Regions from separate parts of the Homo sapiens genome. Here region 2 is linked to region 1. The links are contacts of gene promoters, found by promoter capture Hi-C in blood cells and fetal thymus (Javierre and others, 2016). All regions are on one chromosome and are shown on one strand. The core of a region is centred on a gene start or on the middle of the fragment in contact, and the rest is flanking DNA. Distances in the headings are between cores, read along the strand shown. Region 1 holds the start of PKD1L1 (polycystin 1 like 1, transient receptor potential channel interacting). Region 2 overlaps COBL (cordon-bleu WH2 repeat protein).

Region 1 (5,995 bases), core at 509-3,008:
AATGAGGGCTACAGGAGAGTCAAGAAACCTCTTCTGTTTCTATGAACAAGATCAGTCACTGTCTTGCTTTAGGTGACTCAGGAAACCCCAAAAGGCTATGACTTCAGAAATGGGGCCTCGACACCAATTACAATGGCTAGTGCGTGCATGAACTAGTTGGTCTGCAAGTACAAGATGTATAAATATACAGGGGAAAAAACATCAAGTCAGCGACTTCCGCTCCTCAGCTTTTCTTTCCTTTCTAAGGGCAAAGGGGTAATTCCTTGCAATTCCCTGACTGATAAGAGTGAAGGTCAAATTGGGCCAACATCAAGGCTCTGGGAGTCTGCAGGAGCATGGGCATTTGGAATAAAAGAAACATGAGGTAACCAGAAAAAATAAGGGAAAAAATTGTAGCCAAAATCAGACAATGCTTGGCAGCAGTGAGTGACATAAGGCAAAGAAATTTCCAAGCATGAATGTGACCAACCCCGTCAACACGTGCAGCCTCATTTTCTCATCCTGGTTTGCTTTGGGTTTCTTTGATAAAATGATGGTGATGGCACAAAGACAGTAAGCTAACAAAGGCAGAAATGCTGACAGCAAGCATTCATCAAGGATACTGATTTTTATAACGACCCTCTGGAGTTTACAGATGTGACAACAGGGGTACTCAGATTTTCAGGATGAGAAATCTGGGGGTGAGGAGGTAAAGTGACCTGCAGTGGCGGGGTACCCCACTGGGCAAGATCTGCAGGCACAGGCTCCCATCATGCCAGGCCAGGGGACAGCGGTGACCCACCTGGGTCCTTACCACATCCCACAGGCAGGTCACCTTGCTGGCCTCACGCCCAGGAAAGGGGGCATGGAGGTTTGCACCATGTCACACTGCCATGAGACAGTCAACAGCAGAGCACACAGGCTGCCCAGCCTCAACAACACATGGGTGCTGGCGCGCACAGAGCATGGGGAAGAGGGTTTAGAAATAAGACCCATGGAGGCTGGGTGCGGTGGCTTATGCCTGTAATCCCAGTACTTTGGGAGGCCAAGGCGGGCAGATCACAAGGTCAGGAGATCGAGACCATCCTGGCTAACACAGTGAAACCCCGTCTCTACTAAAAATACAAAAAATTAGTCGGGCGTGGTGGTGGGCGCCTGTGGTCCCAGCTACTTGGGAGGCTGAGGCAGGATAAATGGCATGAACCCAGGAGGCAGAGCTTGCAGTGAGCCAAGATCGCACCTCTGCACTCGAGCCTGGGCAACAGAGAGAGACTCCGTCTCAAAAAAAAAGAAATAAGACCCCTGGGCCAAGACCCCATGATCTCTTCCTGTGCCAGGTTTCTCCTGGTCTCCATGCAAGGGACCTAGCAGACAAGCAGATAGCTTAACTTTGTCTACTACCAGGCAGCAGAAAGTCCTCGAACTTGGAAGGTATCCTGCATTTGCAGGAAGAGCAATCAGCACTTCTCATGGCTGAAGGCATCCGCTTGGAGGAGTCTTCTCAAAAGCCTTCAGGAAAAAACTCCATTCTCAACACCAACTCCAACCTCTGAACTGACCCCGCCGGCCAAATGCACCCTCCTGGTACAGGGCCTCCACTCGTGCCAGAGTGAGCCCACATCCTAGAGGTGATGACTTTTGAAAGAAAATTTCTGAATGCATACTTTAAAATCAAGCTTACCAAACCCTCTGAGAACAGTGATAACTCACCTTTCCTGGTCATCAGAAATGTTCTGGGCTGCCTCCTCGGCCATGTCCTGTGCAAGCTGGTCACAAGTATGACAGTCAGCAGACCAGCTTCTTCCTACATCCTCTGGAAGACAAAGAAATAGAGCTTAATGCTTCCAGCTTCTGTACTTGTGACCTCTTATCAGGACACACATCAAACACAGAGGGAAAAATCCAAACTCCAGTAACATTTTCCCAAGCAGAAACAGCTTTTGTTTTCCTAACACTGTCAGACAAATTCCTTCCTAAGAAGTGTGCTTTTGACAGACGTGGTGGCTCATGTCTGTAATCCCAGCAATTTGGGAGGCCAAGGTGGGTGGATCACTTGAGGCCAGAAGTTTGAGACCAGCCTGGCCAATATGGTGAAACCCCGTCTCTACTAAAAATACAAAAATAGCCAAGTGTGGTGGCACACATCTGTAATCCCAGTTACCCAGGAGGCTCAGGCGAGAGAATTGCTTGAACCTAGGAGGTGGAGGTTGCAGTGAGACGAGATTGCACCACTGTGCAATAGAGTGAGACTCTGCCTCAAAAACAAAATGAAACAAAACAAAACAAAACAAAAGTGTGTTTTAGGTAGGGATCTTTGTGGCTGCCTGAAACAGATCACTACTCAAGGGAGAGACTGTACATGGAAGCTGAGAGAAGTCTGAGAATAAAAAGCTGTAACTGTTGGCTGGGCGCGGTGGCTCACGCCTATAATCCCAACACTTTGGGAGGTCGAGGTGGGCGGATCACGAGGTCAGGAGCTCGAGACCAGCCTGGCCAGCATAGTGAAACCCCGTCTCTACTAAAAATACAAAAATTAGCCAGGCATGGTGGCACGCACCTGTAGTCCCAGCTACTCGGGAGGCTGAGGCAGGAGAATTGCTCGAAACCGAGAGGCGGAGGTTGCAGTGAGCCGAGATCGTGCCACCACACTCCAGCCTGGGCAACAGAGCGAGGCTCTGTCTCAAAAAAAAAAAAAAAAAAAAAAAGCTGTAACTGTCCACAACTGCACTGGGGAACAGGATACCTTCCACAAGAGCAGAAGAGCATTCCTAAGGAAGGCTGGCAAGGCACACACTAGGCGCACTCTGTCTTACGGCAGAACCTAGGAATGATCTGGTTCCGAACCTCCTGCACCTCTCCTTGTTTGCAACTGGCGGGTCAGACTGAGTTCTCTCCATTACGAAACATTTTCTCTTATATTTTTAAAGCACTTGTTAGTTGTCTTAGTTCTTTATACCAACATTTAAACCTTCAGAGATTTTAGAAAACTTAATGTTTTACTCAGAACACTAGATATTTTTTCTCTCCACTCTGAAGAGAGTGATACCAAGAAGAGTGGGAACGTTTTCAGGCACAAGCTCTTTCTCAGATGGGAACACAGACCCCTTGAACAATGATGAACCAAGCTACGGGTGTCCGGCCTTGGATCCTGTGTTTTCTGGAACTTTGCTGCCAATGAGGTGAGTAACCAGAGCCCTGTGGTGGGTTAAGGGGCCTGCTGTTGACCTAACACACCTGTCTCCTGGGGCCTGCTGCCACCTCTGCTCTTCTCACACTGCCTTGTCAGTGCCTCTGGCTTTGTCCCCACTGTGCTTGTTGTGAGTAAATCTCAGATTTGGGGGAAATGCATACTTTCCAATTTCATTAGCAATACACTTTCAAATGCGCCTGTGACCAAGAAAAGGATAAACTGCAAACTGCAGTTTGTAAACGAACAAAATCCCTTCTTTCTGAAGCCCCTGTGATTTGCTCTGACACCTTCCTGTCAAATCTAAACAGAGTCCACTGGGTAAAGACACCTGTGCAACCCTGCCTGCTGGGCTGGCATCCATACCCACACGCACACCTGGATGCTCTGACCTTGCTGCTGCCTGTTCCTTCCTTGTGGGGCTGGACATCCTGAGAACAGGGCCTACATTTAAAGTTTGTGATGTTTTTGAAGCCAGCAGTGCTAACCAAAGATGCCAGGAAATGAGGAGGAGCAAAGAAAGTGACATAATTGAGGGAAGAAATATGCCTGCACTGCCCTACGTGGGAGGCACTCTCATAGCCACTCTCATAGCCACTCTCAGCTACTGGAGCTTAAGTTACTTACAATTAAATAGAATTAAGAATTAGCTGGAGAAACCCCGTCTCTACTAAAAATACAAAAAAATTAGCCAGGTGTGGTGATGCACGCCTGTAATCCCAGCTATCCAGGAGGCTGAGGCAGGAGAATCGCTTGAACCGGGGAGGCAGAGGTTGTGGTGAGCCAACTTCGTGCCATTGCACTCCAGCCTGGGCAATGAGCGAAACTCTTGTCTCAAAAAAAAAAAAAGAATTAGCTTTAGCTTCTCCATCATTAGCCATATTTCAAGGGCTCAGTAGCCAAGATACAAACTATACAATGTTTCCATCATTGCAGAACACCCTCGGGGCCAGCGCTGGGCTGGGCAGCCTCGCCTTTTTCCGGGCAGTGCGGCCAGCATTGTTTCCTCAGAGCAGCTGCATCCAGACAAGGGAGGGGTTCCCAGTTCATCTACATTCTTGGGCCATACTCCTCCACCTGGGGTTTGCCGAGCACTGCACTGGTACAACAGGGAGCACAACACAGAACCAAACTCACTGCTTCCCTCCCGAGGACGGAGGGGTGTGCTGCTTAAGGTGAGACGTGGATGCAGCCAAGCAAACTGGAAAACGTCGAGTTTTGAAAACTGCTTTAAGTAAAAATATTCTGAATAAAATTAGGTAAATGGCTTCCAAATATGGCCCATTTTAAGAAATCACTATCTAAGCTCCTCATTTAGAAACAAAGACTCGATCAGGATTTTGACTCTCCTTATGACCTTGCTGAAAGGAGGAAAAAACACAAGAAAAATCATTTCTTTGCATGAAATCAATGTGCAAGGACGGAACCCCCTGGCTGGAAGAGATCCTGGGAGGTCTTTCCCTTTGTCTTCATTGTTTTAAACAAAAGCCACCTCCTTAGAATTTGTTTTTAAGCCACATTCTGTATTTCAGATTTAATACTTAGTTTCTAAAACTGCTTCTTAGGTAATAGTTCACTTAGTCAACCCCTGCCTTACTCCACAGACTTAAGGTGTTTAGTATGCACATAGTTCAGAATGAATACCTGAAAGTAGGTAGCACTGCCTGAAGACTTTCAGTAGTCAAAGTAGAAAAGCAAACACAGGTGTTTACACAGTTCACAGTGTAAAAAGGCACAGAGCTGCAGTTTACACAGCACAGGGTTCCTCCTCAGATGGAAACTTCAGCAATTGTTCTCACATGGGTTTTCATACTTGAAGATGTAATAGATGGCATTTAATGATACTAAGTTTCAGATTTGGGGAAATATTACATTTGCAACTCAGGCAAGTGTATACATAAAATATACAAGGAAAAATAACACTAGAATGATGGTTATCATGAGCAACCAACTTCGTTTCTCAGGTTTCAATGCAAGCCCAGGTTCTGATCATTATCATCTCATCTTCTGCCTGCTTCAGTTTCTCACCTCCAAATGGAGCTTCCCGGGAAAGCACCTGGCCCACCAGCATCACTTGACCTTCTTCTCTTTGGATGAGCAGTAGCACATGCTGACATGTCCCTTCCTAGCAAGACTGCCAGTCACTGTCATTTCCATTCTGTTCCTTGAGGCAGCTTGTGGACCTCTACTCATTTACCTTTAGATATTCTACATCTTTTTTTAATTAACACCCTATCCCCACTCCCAGCCCACGCTCTGGGTCCCATCACACTCACGGAGACAAACACAGTGCTTGGGCAAATTTTTGTAATTAGTTGTGGTGAAAAGAAAGAAAAATTGATAAGATCTTGGTAGAATGTCAAACTTACCATCCTTTGAGCTGGTTCCCAGAGCAGGCTGCACCAAGGAGAGCAGGGGCAAGGCTGCGATCAGCCCCCTCCACCCCATTTGCAAGCAGGCTGCTCCAATGGGGCTGCTGATCAGCATTCAAATCAGGGGTGGCTTTGGGGAAGTGAGCACAGGTAGAAAGCCCATAAATGGAACCCGAAGCAACAGGGACTGGCCTTGCTCCGCCCCATGGGCTGGAGCAGTGAGCCTTCCCTGCCTCCATTAGCATCTTGGGACAAGCAGCCAATCATAAGCACCCCCTGAGAAAGAAATCTCATGCCCAGAAGAGCTCTGGGGCCTTAGCCTCCCTTCACCCCAATATGCTTCTGGGCCGTTTTCTCTGAGATAAGTATGTCCTAAGTGATGTTAATTTGCAGGGAAATATGTGTCAATCATCTGTGAGGCTCAATAGTAGCTCCACTAAAGAAAAACAACATAGTT
Region 2 (5,785 bases), core at 2,588-5,087, 3.2 Mb after region 1:
ACAGATCCAGAATATATCATCTCGGATGGCAAACATTCTTAGCCAAGCAAATAAAAGAATTCTCTGATCCTTCTCACCCCACATGGAGGGTCAAATATTGAGAAATAGCTAGTCATTTGTTCAGGCTATTTTTAAACACACATTTCCAATGTACAGTCAATAAAAAACCACCCTTCACACACACACACACACACACACACACACACACACACACACACAATGAACTGTAGTTAAGGTGCACTTTCAAATCACTAAATGGAACTGCTGAAGAATGGGAACTTTCATTTCTTAACCCTTCTCCTTCCTCTCCCCCTTAAACTGTTCTGTACTTAAAATAGAAACACAGGTGCCCCTAAGCTGGATTCCCCTCTCAGAGAGGGAGCCACACAGCTGCATCCGCAGCTTAGCTGAGGCTTTGCCTTCTCTGTACAGACCTTCCTTCGCCCTTCTCACAAGGAGAACCGAGCCCTCTGACTCTACCTCCTCGCCAGGGCCTCAGGCTTGATTCTCCTATTGCCTCATCTGCCCCAATACCTCAAATCAGAGTTTTAACAAGGCCAGGGCTAGCCAGACACGGTGGCTCACGCCTGTAATCCTAGCGCTTTGAAAGGCCGAGGCAGGCGGATCACTTAAGGTCAGGAGTTCAAAACCAGCCTGGCCAACATGGTGAAACCCCATCTCTACTAAAAATACAAAAAAATTAGCCAGGCGTGGTGGTGTGGGCCTGTAATCCCAGCTACCTGGGAGGCTGAGGCAGGAGAACTGCTTAAACCCAGGAGGCAGAGGTTGCAGTGAGTCAAGATCATGCCACTGCACTCCAGCCTGGGCAACACAGCAAGACTCCGCCTCAAAAAAAATAAACAAGGCCCCTGGCAATGCCAGAGAATTTGGAGTTTCAGTAGCACCGGCAAGGGGTTCCTTGGTGTCTTCTGAGGGCAGGGGGTTGGCCTGGCTCCTCTGTGTGTCTCCAGTGCCCCCTGGTCTGCTGATGGGACAGACTCAAAGTGTGCCCAGGGCAAGTGGTTGGAGAGGCGAGTGTCTATGTGGGGAGGGATTTTAGTGGAGGCACTCTGCTCTCTTCTCCCTTTTCTTTTCTCCTTCTTTCTTTCCTTATTTTTTCCCCCTCAATATTCATTGTTCTTATTCTCTAAGTCAAAATTCAGACTTTGGAAAATAAATAATCACTTCAGGAAGTCTATTTATTGTACTATATGGTGACTATAACTACTAAGAATGTATTATATACTTGAAAATTACTAAAACGGTAGACTTTAAATGTTACCACAAAAATATAAGTATGTGAGGTCATGGATATGGTAATTAGCTTGATTTAGCTGTTGCACAATGCACTGATATATAATTTTTATTTGTCAATTGAAATAAACAAAATACAGACAATCATCACACACATTGTTAAAACATACAAAATATGCTCTGTGTTGTTAATGGACAGACAGCCTTTCACTATACTTCTTAAAATATAAAACTTTTAAAAGGGTTGCTGCCCCTGGGGAAGGAAGAAGAGAGCCAGTTGTTGTGTTAGAGAGGCAGTGTCATCTGTGTCTGCTGTGTTTCTTAGTCGTTAACAAAAAGACAATGCAGCAAATGTAGCTAAACACACATTAACATTTGTTAATGGTGGATGATTGATATGGGACTGTTTATTTATTATTCTTTTTATTTTACTATTTCTATGTATTTTCTATTTGTTTATTTTATTTATTTTACTCTGTAATCTACTATGAATTGGTACCATGCAAAATTTCAAAAAGGAGAAGAGACCCTCAAGGTGCAGTTTATGTTGAAAGAATGGAGAAGAATGGACCCAAACCTACCGGATGGCGGAAGGGCAGGGTCGGGGAGGAGCCTCCTCACTCACACGCGTCCACAGCCTGTAACCATCGCTCAACAGGAAGAAAAGGGAAGGACTATAGGTCCGCCTGGGACATATTTAAGATGCAGAAATCAAGAAAATGTGACAACCCTGGAAGAGGAAGCAAAGGTGGTGCTAGCTGAGGAGACAACAAGGGAGCAGTGGGGATTTAAGAAGATCCCAGTCTCCAGGGTAGAGGACGCATCCCTAGGGGCCCAGACCCTGGGGCAGGTGCCACTAGGAACAGAGCACGGTGGGAGGCTGGGAAAGTGTCCGCCCCTGCCCTTTTCCAGGGAGGAGCTGGAAAAGAATGCAGGCAAAAGTCGGGGAGGAAACACTCATTCCTAATGAAATGAAATCTGTAACATCAAATAAAAACAGGAGATGAGCGCGATGCTGGGACAAGCACACTGGCCTGAGCCAGGGGTGTCCATAGGGCGGGGGACAGGGAAAGCGAGGCACGGGGTGGGAGACAGGGAAGGCGTGGGGGACAGGGAAGGCACAGCGCCGGGGACAGGGAAGGCACAGCGCGGGGGTGCAGGGGCTGTGTGGGCAGGGAGGCGAGCTGAGAAACAGCAGCCCCAAGGGCCGACCCTGGGACTGCCAGTGTGTGGGACACCCTGTCTATAGTCCACTTCCTTTTTTTAAGAACCTGGATCAAGACACACGAAGAGCTGGCCAGGAGCTTGGAGGAGGGCAGCGGGGGCGGCGTTGCAGGCTCTCTGCAGCCCCCGGCCGCGCGCACCTGGCGGCCGCGCGCGCTGCGCTCTGGATGCCGCGTGAAACCGCAGGGCGCAAAGCAGGGAGGTGGGGAGGAGGCTTTGGAGACCACAGGTGCTGGGAAGTGGAGCCGCCAGGAGGCCTGGGCCAGGTGACAAGGCCAGGCTGTGTGAAGTGGTGAGATCCTAGATGTATCTTGAAGGCGACAGACGCTATGAGGGTTGCAGGTGGAGTGGGAGAGCAAAGGGGGCAAAGAGGACCCCAGGGTTCTGGCCCGAGGCACTGTGATGGCGGAGATGTCATCTCCTAGACAGGAAAGGATACCGAGGGACAGAGAGCTCTGCTTCTCACCTTCTCTGGTCTCTGAAGCAACTTAAATCCATGTGCAGGCAAGTGAGATTCTTGTTTTATACTTGTCTGACAAAGAGCAGGGGAAGGCCAGAAAGGAAACATAGACAGTGGAAATAATAGTCATGTTTTAGGGGAACATACGGAAAACCAGTATTTGAAAGGGACGTTTTCTACCTCAGTATCCTTACAAACATCACATTTTCAGCCAAGTGGTGAAAAATCTACATTTATTTTTTTCCCTCCGAGAACTGGTACTGGCATTAGGCCCTGTTTATCAACTCTTCAGGATCTATGTGTATACTACTCCCATTGTAAGAATCGAACACTCTGGGAAAAAAATTCATCAAAGCTTTAAAACCAAAACCCTCCTCTGATGGGTTCCAGGTTTGCATTAGAGATCATATGATAAGAATATTTTTAAAACTATTTTTTTGTTGTTGTTTTGAGACAGTTTCACTATTGTTGCCCAGGCTGGAGTGCAATGGCACGATCTCAGCTCACTACAACCTCCGCCTCCCGAGTTCAAGTGATTCTCCTGCCTCAGCCTCCTGAGTAGCTGGGACTACAGACACCTGCCACCACGTCCAGCTAATTTTGTATTTTTAGTACAGATGGGGTTTTGCCATATTGGTCAGGCTGGTCTCAAACTCCTGACCTCAGGTGATCCACCCACCTCGGCCTCCCAAAGTGCTGGGATTACAGGCATGAGCCACCATGTCTGGCCTATTTTTAATGGTCAAATAGGTATGGAAAGAACCTTAGAATGATTTTTCTAGATTACACATTAAGGTCTATTTACTTTCCAATAGTTGATAGGAGTTTTATATACACAAGGCTCTGAATCAGAAATGGAGAGTTGAGTGGCCATAATAACATATTGTTATTTGTTGTTGATGACACAGTCATCAAGGGAAACAATGCAGTAATGCCATAAAGTTGTCATATCCTTTGATTCACGAATACATTTGCAGGTGTCTTTCATAAAGAAAACCTCCCAAATGAAAAAAGGCTTTTGGGATAAAGTGACTTTCACATTACTTATACCAGAATAAAAGAAGCAATGAGCAACAGGGCCGAGCCAACCTTCATCGAGTGCTAGCTGTGAGCTCCTTCCTGTGCTTGGCACTCATTTAATCCTCATAAGAATGCTGGGTGCTGGTGATTATGAGCTCACGGTACACACGGGAAGACAAGGCTCTAAGAGGTCACAAACTGTATGTGAATAATTCAGAATCCAAATTCAAGCAAACAAAAACAAAAGCCACGCTTTTCCCTTTACACAGAAGATCATACAACCTTTAAAAGAACTATGCAGATACTGAGAAAGGCTCAGGAGAACAAGGAACAAGAAACTCTGTTAGACTTGTAGGCACTGGACATGATTCTCCTACTCTACTCTTAAAACCTGCCATATGCAATTTATTTTGTTTTGAATATAAAGCTTTTTTTTTTTTGAGATGGAGTCTCACTCTGTCGCCCAGGCTGGAGTGCAGTGGCGCAATCGAGGCTCACTGCAACCTCTGCCTTATAAAGCATTTTCTAAAGGTACAAGCTAAATTTTAAAAATATCTCTACACAACTGATGTATAACAAAAATTAGTTCTACCTCATAAACACGTGGCTCAGCCCTCGGAACACATTTTCCTGTTCTCAACTGATGAACACTCCAAAAACAGAACAGATTTGAGCTTTTCCAGGCCCAGAAAAGCTCGCGAGGGGATTTGCTGTGTGTGTGACAACACTGCCACCCTGTGGCAGCACAGCTCCACACATGCTTTGGGCCGCATTTGCAAGTTCTCTGTAATCCCCCTGGAGACCCGGATCAGCTGGGTGGAAATGCAGGCTCTCTGTAAGCATAGGACTCAGGGCAGCTGAAATTATGGAGTTTCCTTTAAAATGTAGCTTTTAATAACTTTTTCTGAAAATTTTATTTTACTGGTGGGCTTCCCTGTAAATGCCTGCCTCCAATACTGCAGAGGCTTCCATCAGAAACAACGCCACTCAACACGAATTCTGGAAACTTTTTTAGGGCTTTTGCTATGGAAATCACTTCAAATGTAAGCTCCGTCCATCTGTGAAACACTATAATGACACTATTTCTGTCACTGCCTGAACAGGGCAAATGGACAAAATGTCTCCAGACAGGTTTATTTTGTTGTTTGCTTGTTTTATAAGGCAGTGATTTTTAACTCTTTTACCAGAAGAACTTTAACTTTATGGTATCAAGAAATGCAGAGATATCTGATGAAGCATGTAGTAATACCTTTAGATTGGTCAAATTTATAGAATTTGGATTTTTTAAAAAACCAAGAAACCAAGAAGCAGGGCCCATAAAAGGCCAGTTACTTTCAAAAGTTCATTCTTCAGAGAAAGGCCTGCTAATGACTGGTCTGTTGTCCTGGTGAATAACAGAACCAGGATTAGAACCCACGTCACTTTACTCCTACATCAGAACATTTGCACTTTATCAGACTGATATAATAATTTCTTTTCCATTTTTGTGTGCTGAATTGCAAATTAACTCAGGTACCTTGTCTCATCCGTTAGCACAGTTTATCACTGCTGTTTGTGTGACTTAGGAAACAGAGACCCGAGAGCTAACTCACACCTTATCATTAACCGGCATCCACAACTGACTATGTGACCTCCCCGTGTCTTGGAGTCCAGATGTGTGGGATGACGTTAACTGCAGTGTAATCTGTTCCATGCTTTCACAGCTACACAGGCTGAGTTTGAGGAAAATCAATACTGACCATGTCCCCACTAAGCCAGAGTCCCCCGCAGGTGTCCAGTGCAGCCCAGTTTACAGCCTGAGGCACACTTTCTTTCACAGATACAGAA

What was found. Contacts are between HindIII fragments. The CHiCAGO score rates a contact against its expected background, and 5 or more counts as called.
Region 2: a fragment that was not itself captured here is called in contact with the fragment with the promoter of PKD1L1 in region 1 in 1 of 17 cell types (naive B cells); the score reaches 8.9 in naive B cells.

What each region holds. Positions count from the first base shown.
Region 1 is chr7:47,946,708-47,952,702 of GRCh38, forward strand. It overlaps PKD1L1 (polycystin 1 like 1, transient receptor potential channel interacting), which reads right to left and starts at 1,759. Exons shown (of 57, transcript NM_138295.5): 1 at 1,690-1,759. The coding sequence starts at 1,733. RefSeq lists an enhancer at 4,836-4,965. The HindIII fragment of the contact is 5,981 bases long and covers 1,654-5,995 here.
Region 2 is chr7:51,156,524-51,162,308 of GRCh38, forward strand. All of the region lies in intron 5 of COBL (cordon-bleu WH2 repeat protein), which reads right to left. Among named protein-coding and RNA genes, the nearest start is that of COBL, 160 kb to the right of the region's middle. RefSeq lists an enhancer at 4,509-4,803. The HindIII fragment of the contact is 1,092 bases long and covers 3,292-4,383 here.